4 separate regions of the Homo sapiens genome follow, and regions 1, 3 and 4 are each linked to region 2. The links are contacts of gene promoters, found by promoter capture Hi-C in blood cells and fetal thymus (Javierre and others, 2016). All regions are on one chromosome and are shown on one strand. The core of a region is centred on a gene start or on the middle of the fragment in contact, and the rest is flanking DNA. Distances in the headings are between cores, read along the strand shown. Region 1 holds the start of SPATA4 (spermatogenesis associated 4). Region 2 holds the start of CBR4 (carbonyl reductase 4). Region 3 holds the start of AGA (aspartylglucosaminidase). Region 4 overlaps NAF1 (nuclear assembly factor 1 ribonucleoprotein).

What was found. Contacts are between HindIII fragments. The CHiCAGO score rates a contact against its expected background, and 5 or more counts as called.
Region 1: the fragment with the promoter of SPATA4 here is called in contact with the fragment with the promoter of CBR4 in region 2 in 5 of 17 cell types (total CD4 T cells, activated CD4 T cells, total CD8 T cells and 2 more); the score reaches 18.1 in total CD4 T cells.
Region 3: the fragment with the promoter of AGA here is called in contact with the fragment with the promoter of CBR4 in region 2 in 1 of 17 cell types (non-activated CD4 T cells); the score reaches 6.3 in non-activated CD4 T cells.
Region 4: a fragment that was not itself captured here is called in contact with the fragment with the promoter of CBR4 in region 2 in 1 of 17 cell types (naive CD8 T cells); the score reaches 5.1 in naive CD8 T cells.

What each region holds. Positions count from the first base shown.
Region 1 is chr4:176,193,871-176,196,933 of GRCh38, forward strand. SPATA4 (spermatogenesis associated 4) reads right to left here and starts at 1,715. Exons shown (of 6, transcript NM_144644.4): 1 at 1,475-1,715. The coding sequence starts at 1,692. The HindIII fragment of the contact is 1,203 bases long and covers 1,205-2,407 here.
Region 2 is chr4:169,008,752-169,011,681 of GRCh38, forward strand. CBR4 (carbonyl reductase 4) reads right to left here and starts at 1,504. Exons shown (of 5, transcript NM_032783.5): 1 at 1,197-1,504. The coding sequence starts at 1,338. It overlaps CBR4-DT (CBR4 divergent transcript), which reads left to right and starts at 1,678. Exons shown (of 2, transcript NR_185919.1): 1 at 1,678-1,705; 2 at 2,033-2,309. RefSeq lists enhancers at 505-1,454, 1,554-1,883. The HindIII fragment of the contact is 6,180 bases long and covers 1-2,182 here.
Region 3 is chr4:177,441,187-177,444,096 of GRCh38, forward strand. AGA (aspartylglucosaminidase) reads right to left here and starts at 1,251. Exons shown (of 9, transcript NM_000027.4): 1 at 1,063-1,251. The coding sequence starts at 1,189. It also overlaps a transcript of AGA-DT not described here. RefSeq lists enhancers at 297-376, 1,203-1,746, 1,837-1,916. The HindIII fragment of the contact is 8,233 bases long and covers 1-2,910 here.
Region 4 is chr4:163,156,580-163,159,864 of GRCh38, forward strand. All of the region lies in intron 2 of NAF1 (nuclear assembly factor 1 ribonucleoprotein), which reads right to left. Among named protein-coding and RNA genes, the nearest start is that of NAF1, 8.7 kb to the right of the region's middle. The HindIII fragment of the contact is 1,988 bases long and covers 642-2,629 here.

The DNA of each region.
Region 1 (3,063 bases), core at 465-2,964, 7.2 Mb after region 2:
TGTAAGTAATACTGAAGACAAATTAGTAAACTAGTCCCCCGCTTATCTGCAGTTTTGCTTTCTGCAGTTTCAGTTACCTTGGGTCAATCACAGTCGGAAAATATTAAATGGAAAATTCAAGAAATAATTTGTAACTTTTAAATTGTACTCTGTTCTGGGCAGTCTGATGAAACCTCCCTGCCTGCTCTGTGTTGCCTAGGATGTGAGTCCTCCCTTTGTCCAGAGTCTCCACGTTGTAGACATCAGTCACCTTTTAGTCATCAGATCAACTGTACAGTGTGGTGCGCTTGTGTGCAAAGTGCAAGAGCAGTGATGCTGGTGATTCAGATATGCCAGAGAGAAACCATAAAATTATTCCTTTAGGTGAAAAGATGAAAGTTCTTGACTTAATAGAAAGTTGTAAGAATGGTTACAATGGTAGGAATGAATCATATTCCTGAAATATGAAGAAAAAGAAATTCTTGATAGTTTCGGCATCACACCTCAAACTGAAAAACTTTCAGCCACAGTGTGTGATAAGTGCTTAGTTAAGATTTTTAAAAAGGCATTAAATTTGTGGATGGAAGACATAAACAGAAATGTGTTCTGACAGAGGGTTCTGTAGTATCCACAGTTGCCATCCACTGGGGATCTTGGAACCTATGCCTCTCTGATAAGGAGAGACTACTTTAAACCAGAGTTCTGCAAAAGATTCATTGCCTTTTTATAGAATTTAGTTTGCATTCCCAGAGCAAATATTAGCTGCCAGTTACATACAAAGTGCCTACAATTAAGCAGCAACTTTAAAAACTTGTTGGTAACTCTCAAACTAGATGCCATCTCCGACAAAGGGTAAACTGATCCTTACCAGTATTTTTTTTTTTTTTTTTTTTTTTTTTTTTTGAGACAGAGTCTTACCCTGCCACCTAGGCTGGAGTGCAGCGGCATAATCTCGACTCACAGCAACCTCCGCCTCCCGGGTTCAAGCATTCTCCTGCCTGCAGCCTCCCCAGTAGCTGGGATTACAGGCACCCGCCACCACACTGGGCTAATTTTTTGTATTTTTTAGTAGAGACGGGGTTTCACCGTGTTGGTCAGGCTGTTACTCAACTCCTGACCTCAGGTGATCCGCCTGCCTCGGCTCCCAAAATGCTGGGATTACAGGCATGAGCAACTGTGCCCGGCCGTCCTTACCAGTATTAATGCCCAATATCACTAAAGAAAAAGCTTTGACTATTTTAATATTTTTGTAGTCACCAAAGCATTCTATATTGTCCACAATTTAATGATTGGTTGATTAATTGAATAAACAAGATGTATCGTGGTATTTTGTTAAAGCCTTGTTCCCTAATAGTGTTTTCGTGTGTGTACGTGGGTGGGGGGGTCTTGATTTGAAACATAAGCCAGGCCAGGGTAGGCAATCTGAGGCCTGGCAGGCGGCGGAAAGCAGGCGGGGCGCCCACCGGGGGGGCCTAGGACTGGCTTACTCAAGCACCTGTTGATGTTCCTGGGGAAGAAGCTGAGATCCAGACCCTGAAGCCAACGCAGAACGGAACGAGACAAGCGGGAGCTCTTCGGCGCATGCGGATAGACCAGACACTTCTTAGGCCTCCCTCGGATGGGAGCTGCTAGCTGTGGCGAAAGTGACGGTGACTTGTCTAGGGCTGCCGCAGTCTGTGTCAAATACCCTTTTTCCTGGCCGGCGGCAGCCATGACGCTTTCTGGGTTGCTGCGGCAACAGCAGAAGGCGGGGCTGGGCCTTATTGCTGGCGGCGCGGTCTCGTGGGGCGGGGCGGAGTCTTATGGGGCGAGACCTCAGCGCCTGCGCAAGCGCCGCAGCAGCCGCCCGTACTTCCGCTTTACTCAGATTTTGGACCGCGGGGCCGGGTATCGAGGGAGGCAAAGCTGGGGTCCCAGTGGTGTGGCTGCGGTCTGGGGAGCGCTTTCAGTCTCAGATTTAGTTGGCCTCACTGTTAACCTATTTAGAGCTTTTTTTTTCTTATGTCATCGTTCATAAGTTTTGTATTTTAAATATTGTTGGTTTCTGCCCAGCCAAAGGCCTATTTTCAGTCGTCTAGTTTGAGGAGTGGTGTGAGAAGACTCCAGAGGCCAAGGACAGTTTTTGTTTGGGAATTGGAAGAGATGGGGGAAAAAAATCTTTGAAATGGAAATGAATGTCCACAAAATTTAACATAACTATTTCCTTAATTATTGCATTAAGTATTTGTAAACATTAATATTTGAAAACGATGTGTAGGTTAGATTTTCACACTTAATTAAAATCTCCTAGTAGGCATAATTCCTTCATTAATTCAACAAATATGTATTGAGTCCATATTATGTGCCACGCATTCATCTAGTCACTTGGGATCTATCTGAACACAATGAAAACAACTGCAAAGTTGGCATAGGCAATTATAAATATGTAAGCTTAATTATTAAAATCCATTAAAAATTTTTACAGCCACAGTTTTTTGTTTTTTGTTTTTTGTTTTTTGTTTTTTTTTGCTTGGCAGGGCACAGTGGGTCATGCCTGTAATCCCAGCACTTTGGGTGGTGGAGGCGGGAGGATCGTTTGAGCTCAGGAGTTCAAGACCAGCCTGGGCAACACAAGGTGGAGAGACTTTCGCTACAAAACAAACAAACAAACAAAATAGCTGGGTGTGGTGGTGCACACCTGTACTCTCAAGTACTCCAGATGCTGAGGTGGGAGGATTGCTTGAGCTCAGGAACTTGAGGCTGCAGAGAGCCAGGTGACAGGCCCTGTGGATACATACACATGGTAAAATATGGGATAGATCTTGATAATGATACTATGTAATATTTTTAATGTTTATTCATATACATGCTTATTAATAAAGTAAACCAGTGTATTCTGTATGTGGTTAAAAAAGAAAACCAAAACTGAAGCTATGTAAGTGTTTTCTGTTAGGCTAAAAAAGTTTTAATGAATGATTCATTCATTCTGTAAACCTTTTCTGAGGAACTATCCTGGAGTATGTGCTAGATCTTTACCATCCAATATGGTAGCCACTAGCCACATGTGGCTATTTAAACTTAAATTTAAATAAACTCAGTTCCACT
Region 2 (2,930 bases), core at 254-2,753:
ACAGTAAGGGTCACCACTCTTCCCCTCCTTTGTTAGAATGGTAAGGAATATGAGCTTCAAGAAGCATTCACTGACACTCTCCCTGACCTATAACTTACAGAATCTTTTTTCTTTTAGAGAGCCCAATAGTCTCCCAACCAGCACTGAACAGGTGATACCAAACCGATCAATAATGTTAACTTAAAAATGAACAGCCACACCTGGCGTCTATAGTCCCAGGTCCTTGGGAGACTGAGGCGAGAAGATCTCTAGAGCCAGTAAATCAGGAGTTGGGGTCCAGCACGGGCAACATAATGGGAAGCCCTCTCAAAAAAAAAAAAAAAAAACCAGATACACAAAAACAGTAAGAGCCACAAGACGCACCCCTAGGCCTCTATTCTCCCCATGCCTCCCTGATAGTAAATGAAGTATAATTTTGTCCATTCTGGTGATTAAACAAATAGCATCTTCGGATCTAACGTCCTATTTCTCCCTAAACTCAATGAAGAGTTATATTCACAAAATGACTAATCCATTCATAATAAGCCGGAAATAAAAAACCCTGAAGTTTAAATGCAATAAAAAAGAATTTGGCAGAACAAAGTTCAATTGTCCATTTGCAAAACTCACCAAAACAATTTAATAACATTAAAGCAAACCAGGTATATCTCAAAACTGGCTGGTACTCAAAAGGGTTTCTCTATCAAACACTGCTTTGTGCATTCGCGCAGGGCCAAGGCACGGCCCTTGGGCAAAACTGAAGGGAGCCGTTGGTACCTGCACTCCCACCTTTCCTGCCTGAACTCCTTTCGACCCAGCCCTGTCTCCGGGGGCCGAGAACTCGCCCTTTTCCCTACATTAAAAGTAAACTGTTACGTGGCTCTCTCCCACAACAGGGAAGCTCCTCAGCGTTAGCACTAGCCGCAGGGCGGAGGGTGCGTATAGCGGGGCCTCAAAAGACTACGAGGTCTCAAAGAACACCCCAAGTGTTCAGCCCTCGGCGGCAAGCTGCGTGGCCGGCATTCTGCGAGGCATAGGGAGATCGCGGGTTTCTGCACGAGACGCATTCTACCCTTGGAACGGGAGAGCGCCTGCACGCGGCTACATCGAGTAACCCTAGAGCCCTAAAGGCCAGACCCGCTCTTTTTACAAAGGAGATTTTCTTTAGGCGCCTGGACCGCGGCCATACAACTGGACAACTCCAGTTTGGTACCTACCGCCGAGGTCACCGGCGGCGGCTTTGGCCCCTTCCAGGTTTCTGGCAATGACCGCCAGTCGGTAGCCTTTCCGGGCCATTAACTGGGCCACAGCTCTGCCAATGCCTCGGGAGCCTCCAAAAACAGCACACACTTTGTCCATCTCGGAGTCACAAACTCGGAGGAAAGAGGGTAGGGAGTGGGAGCCCCTCTCCAGGTTCCCTCAGGCTTTTAAACAACCGCGGTTCCAAAAAAAAAAAAAAGAAAAAAAAAGGCAAACCGCAAAAAAAAATAACGCCGCTCGACACCTCCTGCAGCCGCACAATAGTAATGCAAGACGCCGTGAAAAGGAGGAAGAGCTCGACGTCGCCGCGTCGACGTCATCACGCACGGACTCTTCCGCGCCACACCTAACAAATACGCCGACGAGAGCTCCCCGCCGGCGGAAGAATGGCCTGGAGAGGGCCTCGATGCTTGCTGGGACCTGTAGTCTTGACGCATGAGAGCAACTGGCGCAGGCGCGCTGCTCGGTGGGGAATGTACTTGTGGCACTGAGGGGGATCCTCTGTCCCCGCTGGGTCATATCAGTCGGGATTCGAGCCCCGGTGACCAATCGACCCGGTTTGTTCGGAACTGACAGGGTTGTCAAGACGCTGGGCTTTCCCTGGCAAACCAAGACGACCTGATCACGTAGTTAGAACCCAGAGAAAGCATTACTGGGCGTGAGCCGGTCGGGGCTCCGGTATTTGCCCTTCGCCCAGGTGTTGTTTTGGCTACAGACTTGATGTCCTACCTGTTGAAGAAGTCCCCAAGAATCGCACCCACACCAAAACCTACCCTACCTGTTCCTCCCCCAGGTTGCTGTAGAAATGGACCTCTACCCGCCCAGATGTTACCATTCATCGCGAAGGGTGTCGTGAAGATGAATGCCCTGTCGAACATCATCCAGCAGGAGGTCAAGGAATTTTAACTGAATGATTGAATAGTCTTGCAAGATCTATGAAACAAGCTTCGGCTGCTGTAGAGAAACAAAAATGGGTTCCTGCAATTCTAAATAAGATGTACTGGGTGCTCTGAGAGTTAATAAGCTAAAAAATTCAATGTTTGTTACAATTATAGTGTAAACAGAAAGCATTTCTGATACAATATTATTTTACTAGATTCAGAAAAGTATGAGCCATGGTCCCTACCACTAAAAAAACTACAACCCAGAACTACAGGACTAATACACATGAAACACTAGGAGGTATCCAAAATCATACTTAGTAAAATGCAAAATTATATTAACACAAGAGCTCCGAGAAAATGGAGATCAGTGAAGAATGAAGGGGTGCATGGAAAAGCTGGATTTGAGGGCTGGATGAGGTTTGAAAAAAGGAAAACAAGAGCAAAAAGTCTATAAATAAGCAAGTTGAGCATTAATTTAAATTTGTTATTCCTATTCCATTTAGATCCAAAAAAAGATTTGAAATGGTTTGCAAAAATACATGAGTATTTGAATTTAAAAGGCAAAGAGGACCACTGCCCCTTCTCCCACAAGGCCAGAACAATAAATTAGGTCAGTGGAAAAAATACGAATAAAGTCATGCTATAAGAATCTATTTAGTATTAAAGAAGAGATTCATAAACTTAGAGTTTCCTGCCAGCGAAAGCAACAAAGGAAATATAATTACAAGTGGTAATTTCTGTAAGAAATCAGCCTCCTGGTTATGCAGCAGAGAAGCCTGAGCAAAACTCCCTCCTCATAGGTCCTCC
Region 3 (2,910 bases), core at 1-2,500, 8.4 Mb after region 2:
TTTACGCAAGTTCCCTCTTTCAATACAGGCAACTTAAACACAGAACTGTCCCCCGCCCAGGCTGATGCAATTTCTTTTCGTCTCATTATGGCTGGGAATATCTTTCTCACAGCCTGCTTCTTCATTTTCTCTGAATCGTATGCACTGCCACCAAATTCTGGAGCCAATTCTGCCCTAGAAAGTTAATACGTTAGCAACCTCAGATGGAGGAGGAGGGGTCTGAAAATGACTCTTCTGGTCATTAAGCAAATGAAAGAAACAAGCATAGTACAATGCGAAAATGCCAAGATAATGGTACGTAAAGGCTATTAACAAGGTGTAGAAGGCAGGAACCTAACTCATTCTGGACACGAGGGCAGTTAAGTCAGGGAACGCTTCCTGGAAGAGGTGATACCTTAGCTTAGTGGTTCTCAACCCTGTCTGCAAATCGAAATCACCTAGGGAGCTTTTTAAAGAAAAACAGTGGCCCTGATTCCAGCAGTTAGATCACAGTCACAGGAGGTGGGCCCCGGCAGGATGATTTTTGAGAAGCTCCCCAGATAGTGTGAATGTACAGCAAAGGTTGGAACCTTGAATTCTAAGTGGCAGGTAAAGTATGACAACACGTGGCAAAAAAAGTAAATGGGAAAAGAGTAGGCTATGGCTGGGACACTATTAGTCGTCTACAAAATTGCAAAGAAGTGAAGGATTAGAAACGAGAGGTGGAGACGTACACAGCCCGTGAAAAGACTGTCAGGCAGAAAAGCGTAGCTGCTACTTGATTAAAGCACAAAGGCCATAACTATGGTCAGCAGCAGGGTGGAAAATACATTGCGCTGGGGGCTGCATGAAGGGAGGACCTAAAATGCAACAGCGGTAGGTGGGGAGGATGCAGTAAAGGCCACTTGCAAGAGACTGAGCGGCGCTGGAGACTCGGGAAGACCTAGAGGGCGGGACCGCGAGGCCCGGCCCAGCCCGGCGCTCTTCCGTCCGCCCTGCCGGGTGACTGCAGCGGGGCGGGCTAGTCATCCCCACCCGCAAGCTCTCGCGGCGCAGCCGCCCGCCCAGGCCGCCAACCCGCACCTGCTTCGGTTGCATTCTTAAAGGGCCAAGTGTTGACGACCAGGGGCAGAGGGCTGGAGCAGCGCACTAGGGCCTGGCAGAGCAGAAACGGCACGAGAAGCACAGGCAAGTTCGACTTCCGCGCCATCCCTGACCACCGAAGAGACCAGCGCGAGAAAAGTCCCGGCAGCCAGCGATCGCCGAACAATTAATCCCCAGTGCCCCGCCCGCCTGGCGCCCACGCCCGCTCTCTCGGGGGTTCGCTCAGGCGTCCCTCAACTCTCGCGAGACGAGGCGTCCCTGGGCCCGCGGGAGAGTTGTGTCACGGGGCACTGAGCTGTTCCCTGCGCTAAGGTGCTTCTTCCTAAGTGCTGTTCAGATTTTTAAAATAGCCAGACAAGTTGCTGCTTTTCCTGTGGTTAAAATAGATTTAGCTTGATATTGGGAATTTAATACAAAATTATTCAACTCTGGGTTGCAGGGCCCCAGGAACTTTAGCCGATTGCTGTGTACTATGGATTTGGTTCTTTTACTGTCTTTTTAATTTAAAGTTGAAGTTGAAAAGTTTGTCAAACTCAGTATATTCTTGGGGATCCCAGGCCTCGGAGGTCTGCAATAGTTATGAGTGTAGGTGAAGCGTGTTTGCTTAGGACCGGATTGATTTTAGATTTTTTTTCCATTCATAGCGTCCGTCATTTTCGCACCACAGCTTTTTGTAGCACTTCCTCTCATTATAAATCCCTGAGCTGGAAGAAAAACAGAAACGGCCTATGTACCCTCTACCTAGCACACTGAAGTGCAGCTTCCTGCACCTCCAGGGCAAGACGGCTACCTCCATTCCTTTTTAAATGTATTTTTACCTTCCTGCCTGGCACTATTAAGTGCTAAATAAATGAATAAGAGGAGGAATGGGGATTTTACGTGCTTGGTGGAGGCTGCTCAGTTTTGTTGCTGGGCAGACGTGCGAACATGAACTAATAATCCCTTTGGGTGTCTGGAATGCCTGCCCAGGTTGCCAAGGCAAGACACATAATCACATAATTTTTAAAAGCATCTATAAATCTATACAAACTTTAAAAATATGAACTAGGCTGGGCACGATGGCTCACGCCTGTAATCCCAACACTTTGGGATGCTGAGGTGGGTGGATCACGAGGTCAGGAGTTCGAGACCAGCCTGGCCAACATAGTGAAACCCGTCTCTACTAAAAATACAAAAATTAGCCGGGCGTGGTGGTGCATGCCTGTAGTCCCAACTACTTGGGAGGCTGAGGCAGAATTGCTTGAAGCCGGGAGGTGGAGATTGTGGTGAGCCGAGATCGCACCACTTCACTCCAGCCTGGACAACAGAGTGAGATTCTGTCTCAAAAATAAATAAATAAATAAATGTAAAAATATAAACTAGGTAGGAGTTGTGAGACTTACAAAACCTTCAAGGCTCTTATTGATTGCTAGGAAATTAAATACATAATTTAAAGAACATAAGATAGCCCAGAAGTATCATTATCCCGTTGGGGAAGTGTTAATTAAAAGATATAATAAAGACAAATTTTCTAAGTTCCTTTCATGGGGTTTGGAAGAGGAACAAGTCATCTGTGCTGGAGTAATCATAACCCAATGGCAGGTGAAACTGGAAACTTGGGTGAAACAGGGTAAGAAAGCCAGAAAAACATACATTGTCCTCTGAGTAAATTTTCCTTAGCTCCTGGGCTGAGTATTTTTATGCAGCCTTAAGGAATTAGGACATGCCTTTAGCAAAAATTGTAAAATACAATACATGGAAAATTGGTCTTAGTACCCCACTGATCTCTCTAGCCTCTTCCTGTTTTTTAAGGTATTTGTGTTTCTTCTGGTGGAAAGAGCCTGATCT
Region 4 (3,285 bases), core at 386-2,885, 5.9 Mb before region 2:
CCAACACTGTAGAAAGCTCTATTACACAGCACTGCTTTACATTCTCACACATCAAAAAAGCCCTCCATTACAAAACATATTCCCAGGCATTAACAATATCAATTTATTTCTGGCCATTAACACAGGTATAATTTTAAGACCACATTTTAACAGCATGCACCATATTACTAATGAAGTCTTAATGCTAACCTGAATACTCTACTTGGAAATGGAGATTTGTGATAAATCTATATTTTAATTTCATTGTTTCCCAAAATTAAAATGCAACTAAAAGCCTGTTCTGGATGTACATTATCTGCCATTAGAAATAACTATTTTATCATACAAATGAAATTTTTGTAAATGTTTACTAACAAAAAATCAAAGAACAGCAAAAAGTTTTTCTGGACTCATTTATTCAATACTTCTACACATAACAAAGAGTAGGAAAGGAAAGGAAGAAAACTATTTCATTCACATCATTAGCAAATGAAAAGCTTGCATGGAAATAAACATCCCCAAACACCACAGCATTTCGCAAATGAACTACTAAAATTCAACATACTAAAGAAGCTCCACCATTTATTTCCCACACACTACACAGTTCCAAGTCAAAAGCTTTATTGAGAGGCAATATAATCCAAGCAAATACAATTTTAAAAAGCTTACATTAGATGATACATTCATCCTTCACTTTGAGAAAATATGCTACATGATTATTCAGAAACCAAATAATGAGAAAGTCCAAACGACCAGATTCCAACGTTGCTATGCAGGTCTCCACAAATACTAAAAACACAGCAGTTTGGAATGTATCTATTACCAGTTCAGATCTGCTCCTCCCCACTAATATGACTTCAGACAAGTCTCTTTCTTTCTGGTTTCATTTTTCTTACCTACGAATAGTAAGGAAACTGAGCACAAGTTCTAAACAGTTACACAAATGGCTAACGACAATTTAAATGTCCAACTGCATGTAATCAAAAAGACAACACATTAATACAGAAATTATATACTAGATCCCAATAAAAAAATTACTGTGCTTCTGTGATAACAGATACTCGTAACGATGGCATTAAAGAAATGCAAGATCCTAACCACACTTCTGGAATATCCATGAAAGAGCAATTATTGTCTGTTTTGTAAGATTATTATATTTTAATTTTCTAACATCTGTATGGTCTACAAGGTTATTCAGTTAAGCAAAATATTCAAAAGAGTACCACATAACATTAAAAATCCATCCTATTAAAAATGAGGTTATAGACATACCAGTCAAAAAATGGGTGCCTAAAACTTTCAATGCAAAAATGGAAGAAGCTAATATGTCAAAAGTGGCCCTCTGAAAAGGTAACATTTATAATTTACAACACTGTTGACTTTTCAAGCATTTGTGAAGGCTTATTGAGCAAAAAAGAGTATCAGTAAATTGATGACTTTCTAAAGTAAAATTATATAAAGAACTTTCAGTAGGATTTTCACTCACAAATATGGAAAAAGGACAACAGAGGTTGGTGGGAGAAGGAATCAAACATTCCAAATGAAAACTAAACCTTTTTGGTGTCAGTTTGGGGAGAATTGAGAAAAGTGAGGAAGGTGGGATGAAATTATCTAACCACTTTTCTCATATTACCCAACACAGGACATGCACGTGGCAGCCAATTACCTGATGCTATTAGGTGAGCCTTCACTTTTCAGATATGGTTGGAAAGTAGGATCCAATCCCTGGAGTACTGAGAGCCATGACTGAATTTTTTTTTTCTCTATAGCTGGTAAAACATATTGGAAAAAGAATGGATTAGGTCTGTACACTTTGTGTCAACTATGACCATACTTAACATGTATTCTAATTCATTAACTTCTTCAGGGGAAGTAATTTTACAAGTTTCCATGAAACTCAGCTATTTATCACCAGTAAGCATTAGTCCCCTCATTAATTACCCTATTGTGTATGACACTAAACTTAAGACTCAGACAAGTCAATTAAAAAATGAGGGTCAACATTTCTTTGAAGTGTCTTGATATTTTTCTTTTTTAAATGAATACATTATTATCCTGTTTTTCTCTAAAATTACTGTTAAGAGAAACAAAGTTCATAATACTTTCAAAATTTAATTTGCTTAAATATAAAACTATAGTCCATCTCAATAAGAAACCTCCAACAATGAATATAACTTTAAGCCTATCTTTCATGTTAATTGAGTGCATATTTCATCAACTTTAAGACACTGATTTTATATCACTAAGATAAAAAGACTGCCAAATAATTGTAAAATGCCACAGAGTATTAGCCTAAATTTTTCAGAAATCCTTATTACCTCCCCTTCCACTCAATCCTATCACTTCTTATGTGCAGTACACCATTCATCTGACATTCAACCATTAACTCTCTGGTGCTACTTTGCTTTCAGCTAAAGTGTATATGCTCATTCTCTAGTTCCATTGCTCTTTAACAGATATTTGTCTTTATCTTCTAAAGCAATCAGCAGAATTCACTTATTAGAAACTACTGAGGAATGGGGGAATCTAAACAATTGAATGTTTCTGTGTAATAATAATTATATATGTATATACACAGGACATAAATGGATACTCTACTGAATAAAACAGTATTTATTTCATGTTTATGAAATCATTCATGCCTCATGTAAGCTTTATTGAAATATTCTGTAAGATATAAAACTTTAATTTAAAAAACCCTGAGTATTAATTATTTTTGAAGAACACTAGTGAATATTAATGAAAAATGATCTTAAGTATACAAACCATTGCTTAAATAACAAGCACTTTGGGAAGAATGTTAATAAGTGCTATCAAAGTGTATTCTAAAATAGAATTTAATAGTTCCAAATATACATATAGTAATAAAAACCTAAGTTAAAAGAGGCCTGCATTCAGGACAAAATTTATAAACCAACTTATGCCTAGAAAACAATATATTCAATTGATAATTACTAAGTGTAGACCAAGATGCAATACAATTTCATATATGATGGGAGATCAAACAGGCATGAAATATTCTACTGCAACTTCCAACCACTTGAGTGGTCCAGATATTTCCATACATTCACGTTAGGACATTTTAGAATGTGTCCACACTGCCACAATCAGGAGAATAGAGTGTACTCAACCTAACTACCAAACGTACTTATTTTATAAAATAAGCAGTCACCAAAGTATGACAGCTAAATTTCCCCCAAAATTGCCAATAAGCATTAATTTTTTTCTTGGTCATGCTACATTATATGCCTAAAGACACATTATTATCCCTACTGAAGTATTATCCATTTCTTATCTCCATAAACA